Regions from separate parts of the Homo sapiens genome. Here region 1 is linked to region 2. The links are contacts of gene promoters, found by promoter capture Hi-C in blood cells and fetal thymus (Javierre and others, 2016). All regions are on one chromosome and are shown on one strand. Each heading gives the region's core, a stretch centred on a gene start or on the middle of the fragment in contact. The rest is flanking DNA. Distances are from core to core; before and after follow the strand shown. Region 1 overlaps DHX37 (DEAH-box helicase 37). Region 2 holds the start of AACS (acetoacetyl-CoA synthetase).

Region 1 (3,479 bases), core at 247-2,746, 93 kb before region 2:
ATGCGGGACAGGAGGCCGATGAGGATGTCCGTGTACACGCTCCTCTCGTGGGCCTCGTCGATGATCACCACCTTGTACCGCAGCAGCAGGAAGTCCTGGGGGGAGGTCCGGGGTGAGGCCCACCCTTCCAGCCTAAGCCCCAAGGGCCGCTTCACGTCCCAGAACTCCCACTTGAGGAGACAGTGTTAGAGGAAGGGCAGCTGCTCTTCATCAGAGGTGAGCTGCTCAACTCAGATGCCCGCAGAGTGGGAGGGCAGGTGGGAAATGGACATGAGATGTGGGGTGGGGCCGTGGGCAGTTGGACAGCAGGTGCCACACAGACAGGGGCCACCCAGACCCAAACTGCATCCACTGCCACCCCCAGGAGTCCCAGTGGCTTCAAAGCCAGGAGGGCTGGAATCACCTTTGCCATCCCCCTGGGAGATTGGCCCTGCCCAAGGGGACGTCACAGCCAGCACGGAGCACAGCTTCTTCACCAGACAGCAGTCCCCCACCCGGGCCCTGCATGCTCTCTGGACACGCGTGCCACCCACTTGACCGAATGGCCGGCTCCCTAGGAAGCATGGGGTGCTTCCCCAAGGCCCAAGTGGGCTGACTAGGGAGGCAGCAGCTGGGGTTCCGATTTACAAATGGAAAGTCCTTGGGACGCAGCTTCTGAGGCCAGGGACCGTGAAGACGCTCAAGGGCAAGCCCCAGCGGCCCCTCCCCTTTCCCTCAGCCTGAGGCTGGTACCCCACTCCGAGTCTGGTGCTGCCCCTCACCAAACGCAACTGGACTCGAAGCTCCCAAGAGGGGGCTGTGTCTGGACCCGCCGCAGGGCAGAGCCTGCACACCACAGGCTTTCAGTACACCCCCGGCAAGGCGTGAACTCTGTGAGTCAGTCACAATAAAAATACAAGTTCACATTTCACGAGCACCTTCTAGGTACGGGCCACTGTGCTAAGCTGTCAGCATGCACTCTACAACTTCCGCTTCAAAATGATTCTCTAAGGAATGCACCAACATACTCATCAAGAAACTGAGCTTGGAGAGGTTAAGTAACTCACCCAAAGTCACACAGCAGCACCGTGGGAGTGCTGGATCAACAGGTGGCTTGCCGGCTGCTCATATCCCAGGTGACATCCTAGCATCCCGCCCCCATGCCCACTGGCCTTGCTCTGTGAGCCAGGATCCACAACCAACCTTCTGGATTTCTTTAAGCAGCACACCATCCGTCATGAACTTGATTCTGGTCTCCTCTGTCACGTTTCCTTCATACCGGATCTGGTAGGAGACGACCCTGTATGGGCAGAGTTCGGGTTAGGGCAGAGCCGTGCCTGGCTGGGGCTGTCGCCACGGGGCCACTACAAGGCAGGCCGTGGAGCAGGCAGGCGGCTTGAGGGCAGGGCCCGCTGGCAACCTGAAACAAGTCCCAGACATCTCCCCAGTCCACTCTCCCCCTCCAAAATCCTGGTTTCTGAAGGGAAGGGAAGGAGCTGTTAAGGGCAACTGAGGAGCCAGGCCCTGAACACCTCGGCCAGAGCCCTCCTCGGATGGTGACTATGCCAGGAGACACCGGGGAGACCTGCACATGGGCTGGAGTGTGTTCCAGAGACTTCACAGACTTGGCAACTATCATCGGGGTACTGCAGCTGTATGTGTTTCACAAAAAGTCCTTATCTTAATTCAAAAATTAATCTGGTGTGGTGGTGTGCACCTGTAGTCCCAGCTACTCAGGAGGCTGAGGTGGGAGAATTACTTGTGCCCAAGAGGTTGAGGCTGCACTGAGCAAAGATGGCACCACTGCACTCCAGCCTGGGCAATAGAGCCATCTCAAAAAACAAAAAATGGCTCACGCCTGTAATCCCAACACTTTGGGAGGCCGAGGTGGGTGGATCACCTGAGGTGAGGAGTTCAAGACCAGCCTGGCCAACATGGTGAAACCCCATCTCTACTAAATACAAAAATTAGCCGGGCACCTGCAATTCCAGCTATTCGGGAGGCTGAGGCAGGAGAATCGTTTGAACCCAGGAGGCAAAGGTTGCAGTGAGCCAAGATCGCACCACTGAACTCCAGCCTGGGTGACAAAGTGAAACTCCGTCTCAAAAAAGAAAAAAAAAAAATTAGTTCTTATCTCTCAGATCTGTACAGCAAAATATTGAGGATAAAATAAGATACCTAAGATTTGCTTCTAAACAGTGGGGGGGAGGGGGGCCAGGAGGAGAGTACAGATCCAACAGGCTAGGGCAAGAGTTGACAATTATTACAACTGGGTCTTGGGTACCTGGGGGCTCATTATACTATCCTTTCTACTTATGTATATGCGCCCCCCCCAACGCTTTTTTTTTTTTTTTTTTTTGAGATGGAGTCTCACTCTTGTTGCCCAGGCTGAAGTGCAATGGCGTGATCTCGGCTCATGGCAACCTCCGCCTCTCGGGTTCAAGGGATTCTTCTGCCTCAGCCTCCTGAATAGCTGGATTACAGGCATGTGCCACCACACCCAGCTAATTTTTTTGTATTTTTAGTAGAGATGGGTTTTCTTCATGTTTGTCAGGCTAGTCACAAACTCCCAACCTCTGGTGATCCACCTGCCTCGGCCTCCCAAAGTCCTGGGATTACAGGCGTGAGCCGCCGTGCCCAGTCCCCAAATTTTTTTTTTTTTTTCTGAGACGGAGTCTCGCTCTTTCGCCCAGGCCAGACTGCAGTGGTGCTATCTCAATCTCGGCTCACTGCAAGCTCTGCCTCCTGGGTTCACGCCATTCTCCTGCCTCAGCCTCCCGAGTAGCTGGCATTACAGGCACCCGCCACTGCGCACGGCTAATTTTTTGTATTTTTTTCAAGAGATGGGGTTTCACCGTGTTAGCCAGGATGGTCTCGATCTCCTGACCTCATGATCCACCTGCCTCGGCCTCCCAAAGTGCTGGGATTACAGGCGTGAGCCACCGCACCCGGCCACCCAGTCCCCAAATTTTTATAATATTTAACAAGTTAAAAAGAGAATGAGGCAGCTTTTCCTAGACGCATGCCAACTATGCACAGAATTGTCCAGGAGGACGTGCAGGAGATGGTCAGTGGTGGCTGCTCCTGGAGAGGAGGCAGGGCATTGGGTGAGAAGGGGCCCCCAGTACTCCATCCCTGCCTTAGCGTCCTCCGAGCCTAACGTACAAAGACAACAAGTCCCCCAACTGGCATGCTGACCCGGGGGCCGGTGGCTCTGTCTGGTCCACCACCACGTCCTGAGAGCCCAGGATGGGCCTGGCACACTAGATGCTGCCTAGTAACATCTGCTGAGTGGGCAGATGAGGCAGGCTCTCACTCTGTGCTCTTTTGTGCCTTCTGGATTTTAGACCATGCTGGACATGTTAGACACAGGCCTCTGCATTATAAACATATGCTCCCAGCCATTGTAAAGCAAGTGCTATATCTGCCTGTTCAAGGCTGCTTTCCAAAGCAAGTCCTACAGACTTACCGCCTGAAGATTTTTTTTTTTTTTTGAGACA
Region 2 (3,578 bases), core at 259-2,758:
TGCCTTCCTTGTTGGAAGCAAGTAAAACTGCAAAGAAAAGAGTTGTACAGCAAAATAAACTTTAGATCTCCACCAAATTTTGGGAGATCAGGGAGGCTCTGGAGGGGGTGCTCTCAGACCTGGGCTCACTCTTGTAATCCCAGCACTTTGGGAGGCCGAGGCGGGTGGATCACCTGAGGTCAGGACTTCAAGACCAGCCTGGCCAACATGGTGAAATCCCGTCTCTACAAAAATGCAAAAATGAGCCGGGCTCGGTAGCTCACGCCTGTAATTCCAGCACTTTGGGAGGCTGAGGCGGGCGGATCACCTGAGGCCGGGAGTTGGAGACCAGCCTGACCAACATGGAAAAACCCTGTCTGTACTAAAAATACAAAATTAGCCAGGCGTGGTGGCACATGCCTGTAATCCCAGGTACTCGAGAGGCTGAGGCAGGAGAATTGCTTTAACCTGGGAGATGGAGGTTGCCGTGTGCCGAGATCTCGCAATTGCACTCCAGCCTGGGTAACAAGAGCGAAACTTCGTCTCAAAAAAACAAAACAAACAACAACAACAACAAAAAAAAAAACACGAAAAATTAGCTGGGCATGATGGCGTGTGCCTGTAATCCCAGCTACTCAGGAGGCTGAGGCAGGAGAATCGCTTGAACCTGGGAAGCAGAGGTTACAGTGAGCTGAGATTGGGACATTGCACTCCAGCCTGGGCGACTGAGTGAGACTCAAAAAAAAAAAAAAAGCTAAGGCGGGGAGGGGGCCTTCCAGGTCATAGGTAGATAAGGGACAAATGGCTGCATTCTTTTGAGTTTTCAATTAGCCTCTGCAAAGGAGGCAATCAGGTGTGCATTTAACTCAGCAGAGGGGTGACTTTGAATAGAATGGAGGCAGGTTAGCCCTAAGCAGTTCCCAGCTTTTCTTTTCCCTTTAGCTTAGTAGTGGGGCCCCAAGATTTATTTTCCTTTCACAAATGTGTATTTTGATACCCATTGGCATACTATGTATATTATTGTATTATACTATGACATTATCTTGTGTATGTACACGATGTACTTATTTGTTAATCGTCTCCCGTCTTCCTCACACCTGTACCCCTCCTCTCCTGTTGACAGAGAACAAGAATTTTGTTTTGTTCGCTGCTGTATCCGCAAAGCTCCCAAAGTCCTCCGAATGCCGCAGGCTCTCAGTAAAGACCTGCAGGAAGAAATAGCGAATGAATGATGTACACGTGTAGGAAACAGCGGGCTCGGACGCCTGGCTTCTCCGGCTGCCCTAACGCCCTCCAGCTCCAGGTGAGGTCGGGGAGCTGGGGCCAAGGCTCGTGAGCGCCCCTCACCCCCACGCCCCCCGGCCGCGGGCGCTGGAGCCGGCGGCTGCGAGCACTCCTTTGAGCGGCGCTGCACTCAGCGGAGGGTTACAGGCGGGAGGGCGGGGCCTGGAAGGGGGCGGGGATTCGAGGCGGGGCCTGCGGGGCGGGGCCTGGGCCAAGCGGCCCGCAGGAGGCGGCGGCGGCCGTTCAGTCCCTTGTTCCCCGCCGCCGCCGTCGCTGACCCAGCCCGCCAGGCGCTCCTGACCGTCGCTTCCTCCGGTCCCAGGTCCCCGGCCCTCGCCTCAGCCCCGGCCCCTGGTCCCCAGCCCTCGTCGCAGCCCCGGCCGCCCGCCGCCGCCATGTCCAAGGAGGAGCGCCCCGGTCGGGAGGAGATCCTGGAGTGCCAGGTGATGTGGGAGCCTGACAGTAAGAAGAACACGCAGATGGACCGCTTCCGGGCGGCTGTGGGCGCCGCCTGCGGCCTGGCGCTGGGTGAGAGTCGGGCGCGCGGCCGGGCCTGCGGGGGATGGGCGGGAGCCGTGCAGGGTGGTTGGGTGGTCTCCCCATGGCTAGTTTCACGCTTCTGGGGCTGGAGGAGCCACTTGATGGCGGGGAGGCCTTCTGACTGCGGGGTTCCCCCCAGTCTTGGGGAACATCACCCCTCCACAGCACCTCCTGGCACTTCCTGACTCTGCAGCGTCTCCTCTGCATGTGGGGGTCACCCTCTCCCCGGGAGTGTCACCCCTCGGGAGGGCCAGCTGCCTGTTGACCGTGTGACCCCTTGCTAGGCTTTCCTACCTGTGAGGTGCTCCCTGGAGTCTTGACCTCCGGCCTGTGGGGGCTTCCCCCGGACATAGGGCCTTTTTGACTTGCAGCTCTTCCTCTGTTTGTGGGGGTCCCTTGCCAGTCCCCAGTGCCGTGCACTCTGTCCCCCTGACCTCCCTCATCTCCAGCTGCCCCTGCTGGAGGCCAGCACCTAGCAGGATGGTCAGGCAGGAGGCCCTGTCCACGTGTCTACACTCCCAGCCCCCAAACAGAACCTAGTAAAAGACTCTCTTTCCACCCATCACCTTGAACCTCAGAAACTGCCTCTCTCGGTGCGGGTGGGGCAAAGGCTCCTTCTCCGTGGGGTAACCGCTCCGGGTGCTCTTCCTGAGCTCTAGCTGGCTTGCCCAACTACCAGCTCCACCCCTCCACCCTGCCTCCCCTAGGTATTCCTAGGGGATTTTTTTTTTTTTTTTTTGAGACAGTTTCTCTCTCGTTGCCCAGGCTGGAGTGCAATGGCGAGATCTCGGCACACTGCAACCTCCGCCTCCCGGGTTCAAGTGATTCTCCTGCCTCAGCCTCCCGAGTAGCTGGGATTACAGGCATACACCACCACGCCTGGCTAATTTTGTATTTTTAGTAGAGACGGAGTTTCTCCATGTTGGTCAGGCTGGTCTCGAACTCCTGACCTCAGGTGATCCGATCGCCTTGGCCTCCCAAAGTGCTGGGATTACAGGTGTGAGCCACGGCGCCTGGCCTCCTAGGGGATTTTTAACTCATGGTCTCCCCTCCTCACCCCCTCCGCTGGCGCAGGGACTCCCTTGTTTCTGTTGGTGGCGTCACTGTTCTTGCTCAGGCTCACAGGGATGGACACCCCAGTCACCTGTGGCACCAGAAGTCTTCTGCCACAGCCCCATGTCGCTCACATCTCCTCCTTTGCAGCCCCTTGTCAGGGGTTCTGGGGCCTCCTTTCCTCCTCACCAAACAGTGGTTGGTTTTCCTGCTTCCTGCTTTTCCATCCATTTGCATCCTGCTTGCTTTGCCAGAGTAATCTTGAAGCATACAGGTCTTACTTTGTCACTCCTTGGCTCAGAAGTTCTCAGTGGTTCCTTGTTGACCACAAAATTGCAGACGGCTGCCTGGCAGCTTCCAGGCCCTCCACAGCAGTGGGGAGCTTCCACAGAGTCATTTTCCTAGGCTAACCCAGAGCTGTTCCTCTCCTTCCCTTCCTCTCCCTTGGAGACAGGTGTAGTCTGTTGCCCCAGGGGCTTCTGGACAGCAGTTGGTAAATGAGTATGTGTTGGATTAGGGCAGCCTGGAGACTCCTGGAAGAAGCAGGAGGCTGCCATGTGGGATTATGTTCTTCCTCTGTGTCACCTTGCCTTGATTCCATCTGTTTCCTCTGCCAGCAATAACAGAATGCTGGTCTGGTGCCTGTCTAGCCCTGATGTTATGAAATAATTTCAGATCGGGCAGCCCTATTAGATGGGTGAAACCACCTTCCTCCGTGGGAA

Evidence for each region. Contacts are between HindIII fragments. The CHiCAGO score rates a contact against its expected background, and 5 or more counts as called.
Region 1: a fragment that was not itself captured here is called in contact with the fragment with the promoter of AACS in region 2 in 1 of 17 cell types (neutrophils); the score reaches 5.2 in neutrophils.

The regions. Positions count from the first base shown.
Region 1 is chr12:124,971,321-124,974,799 of GRCh38, forward strand. DHX37 (DEAH-box helicase 37) reads right to left here. Exons shown (of 27, transcript NM_032656.4): 7 at 1,183-1,279; 8 at 1-95. Among named protein-coding and RNA genes, the nearest start is that of DHX37, 16 kb to the right of the region's middle. The HindIII fragment of the contact is 4,811 bases long and covers 1-3,479 here.
Region 2 is chr12:125,063,927-125,067,504 of GRCh38, forward strand. AACS (acetoacetyl-CoA synthetase) reads left to right here and starts at 1,509. Exons shown (of 18, transcript NM_023928.5): 1 at 1,509-1,791. The coding sequence starts at 1,659. It overlaps LOC105370052 (a long non-coding RNA gene), which reads right to left. Exons shown (of 4, transcript XR_001749365.2): 3 at 1,077-1,184. RefSeq lists a silencer at 1,150-1,769. The HindIII fragment of the contact is 11,218 bases long and covers 1-3,578 here.